Linked DNA regions of Homo sapiens: all the other regions are linked to region 1. Evidence: promoter capture Hi-C in 16 types of primary human blood cells and fetal thymus (Javierre and others, 2016). All regions are on one chromosome and are shown on one strand. Each heading gives the region's core, a stretch centred on a gene start or on the middle of the fragment in contact. The rest is flanking DNA. Distances are from core to core; before and after follow the strand shown.

Region 1 (3,480 bases), core at 385-2,884:
TATTCCTTTACTGATGCTAATAAAAATCTGTGGTGGCTCACGCCTATAATCCCAGCACTTTAGGAGTCTGAGGCAGGAGGACTGCTTGAGGCCAAGAGTTTGAGACCAGCCTGGGGAATATAGTAAGATCTCATTCTACAAAAAATAAAAATTAGCTGGGTATGGTGGCCCATGTTGGTGGTACTAGCTACTCTGGAGACTGAGGCAGGAGAGTCTCTTGAACCTTAAGGTCGAAGTTAGGGTCAGCTGTGATCGCACCACTGCCCTCCAGCTTGGGCAACAAACCAAGACTGTGTGTCAAAAAAACAGAAAAAAAATCGTTTGTGTCACCTGATCTGAAGAAGGGAGGGAGTCTGGTGAGAGGGAAAGAGGGAGCAAGGCTGCAGGTCAGGAGTCACCAGGGACAGGTTATCTAAGCTCTCAGTCCAGTGCCATTGTCCATATATCTCCCACCTACCGCTAGCCTCAGGAAAATGGCTCCTCACTTTACCCAAAGTAGATATGGGGTCTTCCTGCAAGAGGAATACACCCATACCATTTCCCTCCCTTCAAACGACCATACTGACCCATGGTATGGTTAGTATTTGGGTTGCAGGTTTATCACATAGCGAGGTACTCCTCTCTTTGTGATGGCTCTAACCTTGATAACTACCTGTTTTCCTCGGCTGCTTCCGGGACCCATCTTTCTGAGCCTTTCTTTCTTTTTCATCGTCGAAGTCAAAGACCAGTGTGACAGTACAAGGTTATATTATAATTGATGCCCAGGAAAACAGACTGCCGTATTCTGATCTATTAAAATTCCTGATTTAGGAATACCGTCTAGGATTTAAGAGAAACATCTAATGAATGTTAATAATGACGATGAGTGGTTTTCTAGGAACCCATAAAGTAAAAGGCTTTAAAAGGGTGGCAAGATTGTCACTGTGCAACTCAGCAACGATTTGTGAGGCTCAACGAAATTCCTACCCAAATTATTTGCAATTATTAAACAGAAAGAATGAAAAATGACCTTGAATTACAGGGCGAAAGATGGGACTGTTAAGACTGTCTTCGTAACTAAGCACTGTAAAGACTGAGACAGCTGCAAGGGAAAGTTTTCCTCGAGCTCTTCCAGTGAATTTTGGGAAAAGGGATTGAATGTCTGAGGTCTCTTCCAGCTCTGAAACCGCAGCGTTTCGTACAGTGTTCATTTTTTTTTAATGGGAGGGGTCTCGGGGTCTTGCTCTGTCGCCCGGTCTGGAGGCTTGAGTACAGTGGCGCGACACGATTACGGCTCACGGCTGCCTCGAACTCCTGGGCTCAAGCGATGCTCCCGCCTCAGCCTCCAGAGTTGCTGGGACTCAGTGTCTGTTCTTAACTCCCTTCGTAGAATCCACTTTCCTCCAGGGCAAAGTTACTCACTTAAGGACCTTACGGCTCGGCTCGGGGATTTCCTGGGTCACCACGCAGGCGACTTCAGGGCCCAACCGTGTCTCCTCCCCCACCCACAATGCACCTCGCGGTTCCCTCTAGGTGGCAGTTCTGTCACGTGTCACCCGACGGAGCGCGCTCCCGTTTGGCGCACGCGCAGAGTGCAGCCCCCAGCTATTTTTCTCCGTGGCGGCGGCGACGAGCGGAAGTTCTTGGGAGCGCCAGTTCCGTCTGTGTGTTCGAGTGGACAAAATGGCGAAGATCGCCAAGACTCACGAAGGTAAGCGGTCTTTCCCTGCTTACGTGTTTTCTTCGTTGCTAGCCTAATAAAAGCCTTTTTTCCTAGGATTCTGCCTTTTTCTATGGTTTCTTTCGTAGGAGCTGAGCCCGCGTTTCGGGGCCAAGGGTCGTCTCCTCCGCGCCAGCGGCGCAGGCCACTGCCCCGCGTAATGGCGTCCTCCTCTTACACCCCCGACAGGCGCTTTGTTCAGTGTTTGGGACCTGCTACTTCAGAGTAGCTTCTCTTCTCTGACCAGAGGGCCTCGTTTAAGCGGCTTCCTCAGTAGGATTCGTGGGCAAGGGATCGGGGAAGCGGGCGTGGGGAGAAGGTCTCACTCGCCTCTCGACACTGTCGTCCCCATAGTTTGTGCAGAAGAGGGTCAGAAAAGCACTGAAATACGGCAGCCGCTTTTCCGGCAGACTGAATCGAATTTGGTTAAACCGAGATTCCGTTACTCCTACCCTTGTGTGTCTTCAAGCGTCAGTTACTTGTTTATTTTTCTTGCACGAAACGATTTGGGGATAAAATCTGGTAGTTGTTTTCCCTCCCTTAGTCACTTTTAGTATAATATTGATCTTTTTCTTTGGAGACTGGTTATTGGAGGAGCAGATGGAAGAGGAAAACATAAATTACTTTCATTAATGGCCGAAGCTTTCAAGCTAGTTGATCGTTTTATGGAATACAGAGTGTGCAAATTAGGAAAACGTTGGGAATAGACTGGAGTTCATTAGGAAGTATCCAGAGATGACAGAAAATGGGATCACTTTTCAGAAAAGACGAGGCATGAGAAGTTGGAACTGCATTCTTTGATTTCTGACTTGGAATCCGAGATTTTCACTGAGAACGAGACTTCTAAGTCACTTTTGTTTCATATGTTCTTTCTGGGTATTTGGCTCGGTATTAGTCTGTGAGAGGTAAGAGACTGAGGCCATCCAAAATTTTACAGTCTGATAGGAGAAACAGATGTGTATGTTCTCATTCTCTCATGAGGCCAGATGCATGCTTAAGTAGAAGAAAAAGCAGCATGTTCTGGGAACCTGGGTAACGGAATGATTATGTTTAGGGTTGTTTCACTGAGGAGGTTACATGACCGTGTTTTAAAAGGATCAGTCAGTTTTAAATCGGGAAGGACATCTGAGCCTGAGAACATCTTGTAACAAGGTATTGAATCGTGAAAGGTGTGTTTGAGTAGTAGTCCACTGTAGCAGGAACAGAGGGTGCAAGTAGAGAAGAAATAAATGAATCTGGAAAGGTTGGATTAGGACCAGAATGTGAATGGCTTTGAATAGTTGGGTCACCCAGAGGACCTGAAGTCCAGCTTTCTGCTATTTATCAAACATGCTAATGAATTGTCAATGACTTTAATATTAGTATACCATTTTAGGTATTTAGGATTTAAATGCTCTCTTAGTATTCCTAGGCTTTATTATTTTGTCTTTAGACTATCTCAAATATAACCTTTTGCAAAGTAAGTAGAAAATATAAAGTTGTGCTGTTTTTGTTCATTCAGGATGTTATTCATTTGGGGATATTGATAGTATAGCTTTGATACTTATTTATTGGTAACTTCAGTATAAGATGCCCTCAGACAGGAAAATCAGAATTCTGATCAGTTTTCCTGAATTTTTTAGAAACCCAGCTAAAAACTTTGGTCTATTGCTATTCATTGGCCAAACTTGTTATTTTTGAGATTATTCTATCAATGTGAATTAAGTGATACCATAAGAAAATAGCAGAACATTCAATACTTGAGCACTGTCTGTGCCCATCCCTATGGGATATGTCAGGGG
Region 2 (3,517 bases), core at 523-3,022, 670 kb after region 1:
GCGCCCGGCACAATTGTTTTTCTATTACTGTTCAGTTTAAACAAATGAATATATATTTTATAGTGATGCTGTTTTTATATATAAATTTACTATTTGAATATTTTATACATATTTATATATGTATTTCATACATATTATTTATATATGCATATGTATATATAAAAATAGGTGTATACGCATATTCATATATACATATTTATATATATTTTTATATGTATAAAAACACTATTGTTTACTCACACCATTTATTAATCTTTGCATTTAATACTATAGTCCTGTCAATATTACTGGAGGCAGTTTTCAAATACACCTAAGAGATTGTTTATTAAAGGTTGTTTATACAGTGTTATTTCATAAATATTGTTACATCTTGTTAATTGAGCTTTATAGGTATCATTTTTAATTGTTGCAGATTTTTTTTTCAGTTGACCCAAAGTTTTTGTATTGGGGAAGATTAGAAACATAGGTCTAATCTAGTCCATTGAATTCATTGCATTGTTATGTATGTGGGAAAAACTATAATACCCCTGAGGTAATATTGGAGTCAATTTGTTGTATCCCTCCTAAACCTACACTTTATATGCCTTTCCGTGATAGCATAGGAATTGTTTTCCCATTGGCTCATTGGTGTTCATTTAATACTATGTTATTTTTACACAGAGAAGTTTTTTATGAAGTCATACCAATCTTTCCCTTTATAGTTGCTACTTTTGCTATCATAAAAAGGACCTTTCCTATCCAAGATTATATTATCCCATTGTATTTTTTCTTTTATGGTTTCTTTTTTAACTCTAAAATCCAAAATTCATCTGGCGTTTATTCTGCCGTAGCTTGTGGGTGAGACTTTAAATTACTGTTAAAATATTTGATGATGCTGTTAACTGAATCAGCATTGATCCAAGGTATATGCATAGTTTTATAATTTTTTTTTAGTACATGAGCTTTAATACCTTTTGAAAACTTACTTACACTTATAAAACTATTAATTTGCCATAAAATTGTCCCGGTTGACAGTTGGAAATATTAAACATAAAGGTATCTTTTTCTCCCTAGGGTATAGAACTTGACCAGTTAGACTTACGAAGAGATATTGCCTACAACTTGTCTCTCATCTATCAGAGCAGTGGGAATACCGGAATGGCTCAAACGCTTTTGTATACCTATTGTTCTATATAAAGCACCGCAACTGAGAACAGAGCAATGGCAGCTGCTGTGTGAGGACCAGTGTCTTCTGTCTCAGGGCTTATTATTTGTAACTCCAAAATAGAAATGACAATTTCAGAATTACCTAACAAACAGTGTATTTATTTTTAATATGTGATAATGATCTTGTGGTATATATGCAAAATTATTCCTACAAAAATTTGTATATTGGTCTGTCATTTTCCTTTCACATTCTATAGTGAATTGTTCCCAATGTTGAAATGGACGTGTAAGCCTTTGAGCTAGCTTGGAGTCGAATACACTATTTTTCACTCACACCATTTATTCATCTTTGTATTTAATACTATAGCTCTGTCAATATCACATGAGGCAGTTTTTCAAATACGTATAAACAGAGGTTGCTTATTATTAAAGGAAAGACAAAGTGGGACTCTTTATGATGTCATGACCATGATAACTAAGCACCTAAGAAAATTATTTAAAATAGTTATGTGGTAGGCAGAAAGACAAATAATTTAGTTTTTTACTTTTCACCAGCATGTATCTTAGCTACCTAAACTGAAACATGGGAGGCTGGGCTTAATTCAAAATATATTGCTCCAAGGCAAATAAAAAAATGCTTTATCTATATTTGTGGCTTTCTGATGAAAAAATAGAGAAGAGCTTGTTCAATAACAGGACATGGTTTCCATTTCAAGATCACAAGTAATATAAGACTGGGCAAGTAGTACGTATGGAATAAAGGACATACTGCTGATTGATAAAGTAAAAAACTTTTTTTTTGTTTGTTTACTCATCTCCACTATTTATTATATGTTCTTGAATTTAAGTTAACAGTACTTTTTAGATGATATACTGTTAGCTTAATAACAACTTTTTAGGGAAAAATAAATGCTGTAATTAATGTGCACATGGGTTAGTAACACCCAGCCCAATTGTGGGAGGGAAACAAGTAGAGGCTTAGGATCAAAGAAATAAAATTGGGACTTATTAGAAATTCTTACCACTGTTTCTACTGTACACAAAACTTTCTAGTTGAGCAGAATTTGTATGCAATAAGTAAATATATTGTATACTCCATGTGTATAATTTAAATGCATTTTATTTTTATAATTGAGGTTAACTGTTTCACATGCTTAATTTTTACTTTATGCCATTTATAGGTAATGGTAGAGGTAACTGAGATACAGTAATAAGTTAGACTTGTGTGTTGGAATTCTGTGGAACTGAGCATTCTGTGCTCCGAGTTTCTCTCTTAAATTAGCTCACTGGACTGTGGCTCCAGTGTCTACTAAATAGCCGTGGAGGAAATAAGTCTCCCTAAGGGAAAAAAAAACCAGCTGATATTGTATAGTTTTGTTTAGCTTTTAAAATCATAGCTTCCATTTGCTGAGTTTTTACTCTGCTACTGTATGCTAAGTATGGTGCTAAACACTTTGGATATGTTATCTCTGATTCTCTCAGGGAACTGCAAGGTAGTTATTATTGATATTGTCATCACCACTTTGTATCTAGAGATTAAATAGCATGTTCAAGATCACTAGTAAGCTGCTCCTTGCTCAGAGATTTTCCTTCAGAAGAACACAGTTGCTGTAGTTCAGAGTAACAACAAACATTAAGCATAAGGTTTGTTTTTTTTTTTTCTTTTGAGACGGAGTCTCACTCTGTCTCCAGGCTGGAGTCCAGTGGCATGATCTCTGCTCACTGCTACCTCCACCTCCCAGGTTCAAGCGATTCTCCTGCCTCAGCCTCCCGAGTAGCTGGGACTACAGGTGCCTGCCACCACCTCCAGCTAATTTTTGTATTTTTAGTAGAGACAGGGTTTCACCATGTTGGCCAAGATGGTCTCGATCTCTTGACCTCGTAATTCGCCCGCCTCGGCCTCCCAAAGTGCTGGGATTACAGGTGTGAGCCACTGCACCCAGCCAAGCATAAGTTTATTTTAGAAAGAAAAAAGACATTGGCAGTGTTTCTGTCTTCCAGGCCTTCAGCCCATCAAAGCCCCTGTATAAAAACATCTTTTGGGGTCTCTTTTTAAAAGCTCCTATTCTCTTACCTCCCATCCTCACCTTAGCAGTGGGGTCCTGGTACCTGTTTTATGCACTGAGACTCTGCTGCTCCTGCATGATCACAGTTGATCGAGGAGGGAGTCTGCTCCTGAACCAACCTGGGCCAATCAGGAGTTTCCTCCCGCCTTCCCTGGGAATTTCAGACTTGAAATAGTTCATGTAGGGCCAGAACTTCAGAACAATGAGGCCAACTAGCAGTTAACCCGTTCTGTTGAAAAAAAAAAAAAAAGTGAGGTGTCTGCATTAAGAGAAGTAAAGATGAGCGAAGGAGAGTTCTCTCTGAA
Region 3 (3,174 bases), core at 538-3,037, 630 kb after region 1:
AAAATTCAACCATTGTCATAGCTAAACTTTCATGGAGTTTCTTTCCCCCTCACTTTTATTTTTCAGTTTGTAATGATTTTATTCCACATTTCCATATTTACATATAAATCGCTGGAACTATGATTTCTATGCATATTTATGGAGTTTTTTTCCTATGAAACCATAAATATTGATGTAGAGCACCGCATGTATTTGTAGGAGTTACAAAAACATCACAAACTGAAAAAAGATTATAATCTAAATTAGATGTTTCTTTAAGCTTGTTTTTAAAACTTGTCTTTTATGTTTATTATCTTTTATCGACCAATATATTTTTTTAAAGGGACATGCTCACTTTTAGTATAGTAAAATTCATTATATGTGATAGAGGGTTGGGTTTAAAATTTGTCTTCCTTTCCTAAAAAGAAGATGCATTCCCATGTTCAGCATACACTACCAAAATACTTCACAGTTTTAGTTTCATAAGAAATGAGGGCAAGTGATAAACAGCCACAATTAAGTTAAAATGGAAGCAAACAACAACAACAAACATGGGATTCTAGAAGTTGTCAACGCCTCCAAAGATGCTCTTTGCCAGAGTATTCAGAGGTGGACATTGTGCCACATCAAATATTCTAGCAATGCCCGAGCCCTTGCTCTCATACACAACCTCCTCAGGAAGGAAAAGTAGAAACAGGTGATTTCCTCTCTTTCCAACCAGCCCCTGCTCTCCTTACTCTAGCTCATGCTGAGTTATTCTGATTCCCATACTCACATTTGGAATAGCTGCTTTTCCTGTATCTTTATAGATAGCTGCATCATCTTCTCTGTGATTCCTGCAAAAGGAATGTTGCACTAAAATGCAACATTGTCCTAACATTAGTCTGTGCATTTCAAAATATTTTAATGTGGCTTTTTTGGGTGGATTATTGATATTGTATATGAAGAATAAAATATTTGTGCAAGAACAGATTTTGTGTCTGGTTTAAGATGTTCTATTGTAATTAGTCGTATATGTGTCTGTTTCCCCTGAAGAGTCGTGAGGTCTTTGTGAGCAGAGACCATATCTAATTCACCTTTATTTCCCCAGCACCTAGTACAATGCCTAGCATGGAGCAAGTGTTCAATAGATACTTGTTGAATTGAAATAAACACGTGCTATTCATCCAGTTTTCACACAGTAATGGAATCTGCTTTTAGTTAATGTCAAAACTTTTTTTCTTGCCATTTAAAAAGTGTAAGTAATTCTTGATGAGCTATTCTTCAGAAAAGCATAGCTTATTCATATAAATGGTAGAGTGGTAGGGAGTTTTTCACCTCTGTCGAGTTCCAAGTACTAGTGGCTGGTTTTCACTTTCTTACTACTATCCCTGCTCTCGGTGTTAAGACCTCCACAAAGGGAATGCTCATCAGTTTCAGGGCATTGAAAAGGAAGGGCGTCCACATGGGGCATTTAGCTATGAGCTTGCAAAGTTTTGGGGCACGGGCATTCATCCTTCAACTGGATTATTATTATTTTTTGTTTTGACACGGAGTCTCACTCTGTCGCCCAGGCTGGAGTGTAGTGGCACAATCTCGGTTCACTGCAACCTCTGCCTCCTGGGTTCAAGCAATTCTCGTGCCTCAGCCTCCCTAGTAGCTGGGATTACAGGCGCCCGCCACCACGCCTGGCTAATTTTTGTATTTTTAGTAGAGACAGGGTTTCACCGTGTTGGCCAGGCTGGTCTCGAACTCCTGACCTCGTGATCCGCCCACCTCGGCCTCCTAAAGTGCTGGGATTACAGGCATGAGCCACTGTGCCCAGCCCAGCTGGAACATTTTTATGGATGGAAGCCCATACCTCACACTGACTAGAGTTTCTTAATGGTAGTGCTATTGGCAGTTGGGGGAAGCCAAATTATCACTGTGCGTGATCATTTAGTACACCTGGTCCCCAGATACTCTATGTTAGTAGATTCCCCATCTCTGCCCTATTTTTTTATTTTTATTTTTTATTTTTTTTTGAGATGGAGTCTTGCTCTGTCGCCAGGCTGGAGTGCAGTGGCACCAGGCTGGAGTGCAGTGCAGTGGCTTTGAAAAGGAAGGGCATCCACATAGGACATTTAGCTATGAGCTTGCAAAGTTTTGGGGCAGGGGCATTCATCCTTCAGCTGGAAATTTTTTTTTTTGAGATGGAGTCTCCCTCTGTCACCCTTGATCCCTTGACCTCGTGATCCGCCCACCTTGGCCTCCCAAAGTGCTGGGATTACAGGCGTGAGCCACGTGCCAGGCCTGCCCTATCATTTCGACAATCAAAACCTCCCGGGGGCCTGGCGTGGTGGCTCACGCCTGTAATCCCAGCACTTTGGGAGGCTGAGGTGGGCCTGAGGTCAGGAGTTCGAGACCAGCCTGGCCAACATGGTGAAACCCTGTCTCCTGTAAAAATACAAAAATGAGCCGGGCGTGGTGGCTCGTGCCTGTAGTCCCAGCTACTCAGGAGGCTGAGGCAGGAGAATCACCTGAACCCCGGAGGCGGAGGCTGCAGTGAGCCTAGATCACGCCACTTGCACTCCAGCTTGGCGACAGAGCGAGACTCCGTCTCAAACAAACAAAACCCCCAAAACCTCCCTACACACATTTCTAAAATTCACTAGTGAAATGATTTTGCTCTTGGCTGAGAACTAATGCCAGAACATAGATGAAGTGTATGTAGTGTTTGCGCCAATGCAAATAAATGTTCTGCAGGTGTTTTATGTTCTGGAGAAGTCTCTGGTACTTCTCTATATAGGTCCTTGGCAATCTCTCAACACTGAGAGGAGCTTCTGCTCCTCTTCAGTGAGCACCCCATTCCCCGGCACTTGGCCTATTGTCCTCTGTCCCAGATCTAGGGTGGCCAAGAACTGTTAAGAGTGTGAGCTTTTATCCTACTTGCAAGCTACACACTAGCTTTCTACCCTTTCATCAAACTTGGCAGATACATGAGACACCTTATGTCTGAGACAACTGACTTTCTTACTGATGGCATGGCAGGTAGTGACATAAGTTTTACATTCACATCAGTTTTCCTGACTCCCCAAGTATCAAGGGAGCCATGTGAATGTGGGTCCAGGGGTATGCAGTGCACAACTGGGTTTGTGCCAAAGCTGAGGAACTCCAAACTTAGGAAATCCCCACTCTTCTAATGGGACTGCTAGCAAACACGCCCAAACTCTGCCC
Region 4 (3,168 bases), core at 250-2,749, 650 kb after region 1:
ACACAAAGACAAGCTTTTTAAAAGATAGTGTATGTTAAATGTTAGTTAATAATATATAAGCTGTAGGGGCTATAAATATATATACTGCTTTCCTTAGCATTGTCAAGTTGCCATTAAAGTATCTAAATACTTACTCTCAATCTCCATACTTACCTGATTGAACTGGTAACAGTTTGTTTACCTGCACAGGTCCCAGACTAGTTTGAGTAGCACTGCCCTGTAGCATTATGAAGTGACCTCCTTACCTTTTTAAATATAGTTGGTCTGAATTCTACATTGTCTCATATTGAGATTGTGACACCTATTTTTTTTTTTTGTTTGCACCTGCCTGCTATACCTTTGTCCTTTTATTTTCAGCTTTCCTGAATCACTTGATTTTAGGTATACATCTTGCATTCAACATAAGGTTGAGTTTTACTTTGTGATTTGATATGAAAGCAGGGTTTTTGACCTATGCATCTATACACACTATATTTTTAAGGCCTATGCCGAGATATAAAGTATTTCATATACTATAATTTTCTTGCTGAAAGTTAAAACACGTAGATATATTTTATTGAACAGTGTCTTAGTCCGTTTGGACTCTCTAACAAAAGACCTTAGACTGGGTAATGTATAAACAACAGAAATTTATTGCTCACAGTTCTGGAGATTAGGAAGTCCAGGGCACCAGCAGATTTGGTGTCTGGTGAGGGCCCTTTTCTCATAGATGGTGCCTTCTTGCTGTGTCCTCACGTGGCAAAAGGGACAAACAAGCTTCTTCAGACCTCTTTTACAAGGGCACAAATCCCACCCACATAGGCACCTCCCAAGACCCACCTCTTAATAACCTTGGGCATTAGGTATCAACACAGGTATTTTGGTGGGACACCAACATTTCAGACTGTTAGCAAACAGCATTTCTAGAATGAAAATCAAAGTGATACAGTTGGAATGTAGAACCCATACATGATAAAGATAGAATCAGATTTTAGTAAAGAAAAAGGCTCATTAAAATGACTGCATTGTGTTTAGTCCTTACTCAGACAGGTGACTTTAGCTACTGTCTACAGAAGAAATGTGCTGTGGATACAGCCTTGAGTCAGACATGGTTCTTGTCCTCATGGAGCTCAGGGCTTAGTGTGAGTAAATTTACATGGTAGGTAAATTCTGCTCTCTCGTTGAGCAGACTAAATATATTAATTGGATTTCTGATACCAGTTATTGGCTTAGAGCTCAGTGATAAAAACAGTCTCTTAATTAAACTTGTCCGAATCCTCCTATAACTTGGTAATTTTAGGCAATATAGTCTCCCCTCAGTGTTCATGAGAGATTGGCTCCAGGACACCCCTCATACCAAAATCCTTGGATACTCAAATCCCTTATATAAAATAGTGTATTATTTGCATATAACTTATGTACCTTCTCCTGTATACTTTAAATCATCTCTAGATTACTTATAATATTAATGGTAAAACCACAATTACTTCTGCACCAACCTAATAATACAATGTAAATGCTATGTAAATAGCTGTTAAACTGTATTGCTTCTTAAGTTTGTATTATTTAATTTTATATATATATATATATATATATATATATATTTTTTTTTTTTTTTTCCCCTTAACATTTTTGATCTGCAGTTCATTGAATCTGCATATGTGGAACCTGAAGGTATGGAAGACTGTCATAATTTATATGACAAGTTCTGTAAAACAGATAGTTATTTAATTCTTGAATAATTTTTTATTTCACCACTTAGGATACATCTGTGATGTCCTCTATACTTCAGGTTTTTCTGAAACGAAAACATGTAAACTTATTTGGAATTTATTAGACTTTGCAAACTACTTTAAATGTGGATAAAAATTCCTGTAATTTCCCAGGGCTTTAAAAATTATTTTGTTGTAATGAGGTTTTAGAAAATAACACAGTATTATTTTATCCTTTTCTTAGCCTGTTTCTAGTGAACACTAAAAAGAGACTTTTCAATTCAAGAAAAAAAAGAGAGAGGGTTCATATATCCTCATTATTTTTGTCTTTTTAGTTCTCCGTAGTTTAGTAGAAGGTGTGAAAGTAAGTTTTGGATAAGTACATAAGGTATTAGAAATCGAATAGGAAGCATACTTGCTACCAAAGGACAGACTGAGAGAGATATAAGAACTTATTAATAGAGTTGGCCACACTAAGAATTGACTGTGGAATCATTTGCTTTGAATGAAATAAATGAGATCTTACATAGAAGATACACATCTCAAGCTTGCATATAGTAACTGCTTCTTGTCTGTGTATTCTCCAGCTCCTGAGAATGTTACCTGCACTATACCTGATGGCGTGCCAATAGATATCACAGTGAAGTTGATGGTCTGCCTTGTACATCTCAACATTCTTGAACCACTTAATGTATGTAACAAGATCTGCACTTGAGATACTTCAGATCAAATGCACCATCTCTTTTCTTTAGATGTCAAGAAATTATAACTTGACCCTAGAGTTTCACATTTCTTAATAACCAAGGAGGTAACAATAAGCATCAAATAATTTTGTATGAATATCTTATAAAAACTAAAATTGTTTTGCAATTGGGCTTACAGTAATTTATTTTTCTTTTAAAATAACAATCTAAAGATCATAATTTGAGATTGTCTTTAGACCATTTGAGATTGTCATTAGATAATTGGTAATAATTCTGACAGCTATTCTTTTTTGCGGACTTTGGACCAAGTATATTATTGAAAAAAAAAAAGTACTTAGCATCTACTTTGTAAACCTTAGGATAAGATATTGAGTAAAATATACAAATCCATACCCTCATGGGTTGGGATGCTTTTTTGTTTTAATGGGATTAGATAATAAAATAAATACATAACATATACGGGACATTGGCTGGTGATAAGTGTTCTGGAAAAAAAAGGAGGAAAATAAGGAATATTGGGGGCAGGGGAAAGTTGCAGTTTTCAATAGGGGATCAGGTGACATTTGGCTGGGCACCATGGTGCACACTTATAATCCCAGCACTTTGGGAGGCTGAGGCGGGCAGATCTCTTGAGCTCAGGAGTTCAAGACCAGCCTGGGCAACATGGTGAAACCCTACGCCTACAAAAAATACAAAAAATTTAGCTGGGTGTGGTGGCGCACACCTGTAGTGCCAGCTACTTGGGAGGTAAGGTGGGAGGATTGCTTGAGCCC

What was found. Contacts are between HindIII fragments. The CHiCAGO score rates a contact against its expected background, and 5 or more counts as called.
Region 2: a contact is called between a fragment that was not itself captured here and the fragment with the promoter of SF3B1 in region 1, in 1 of 17 cell types (monocytes). The highest score is 5.7, in monocytes.
Region 3: a fragment that was not itself captured here is called in contact with the fragment with the promoter of SF3B1 in region 1 in 7 of 17 cell types (naive B cells, total CD4 T cells, total CD8 T cells and 4 more); the score reaches 6.0 in naive B cells.
Region 4: a fragment that was not itself captured here is called in contact with the fragment with the promoter of SF3B1 in region 1 in 1 of 17 cell types (total B cells); the score reaches 5.4 in total B cells.

The regions. Positions count from the first base shown.
Region 1 is chr2:197,433,182-197,436,661 of GRCh38, reverse strand. SF3B1 (splicing factor 3b subunit 1) reads left to right here and starts at 1,634. Exons shown (of 25, transcript NM_012433.4): 1 at 1,634-1,690. The coding sequence starts at 1,663. RefSeq lists enhancers at 1,186-1,235, 1,256-1,565, 807-2,006, 1,751-2,297. The HindIII fragment of the contact is 13,845 bases long and covers 1-2,343 here.
Region 2 is chr2:196,762,222-196,765,738 of GRCh38, reverse strand. It overlaps GTF3C3 (general transcription factor IIIC subunit 3), which reads left to right. Exons shown (of 18, transcript NM_012086.5): 18 at 1,054-2,704. The coding sequence ends at 1,176. Among named protein-coding and RNA genes, the nearest start is that of GTF3C3, 36 kb to the left of the region's middle. The HindIII fragment of the contact is 6,544 bases long and covers 1-3,517 here.
Region 3 is chr2:196,802,192-196,805,365 of GRCh38, reverse strand. It overlaps C2orf66 (chromosome 2 open reading frame 66), which reads left to right. Exons shown (of 3, transcript NM_213608.3): 3 at 1-949. Among named protein-coding and RNA genes, the nearest start is that of GTF3C3, 4.1 kb to the right of the region's middle. The HindIII fragment of the contact is 3,051 bases long and covers 262-3,174 here.
Region 4 is chr2:196,779,773-196,782,940 of GRCh38, reverse strand. It overlaps GTF3C3 (general transcription factor IIIC subunit 3), which reads left to right. Exons shown (of 18, transcript NM_012086.5): 9 at 2,279-2,382. Among named protein-coding and RNA genes, the nearest start is that of GTF3C3, 18 kb to the left of the region's middle. The HindIII fragment of the contact is 1,482 bases long and covers 759-2,240 here.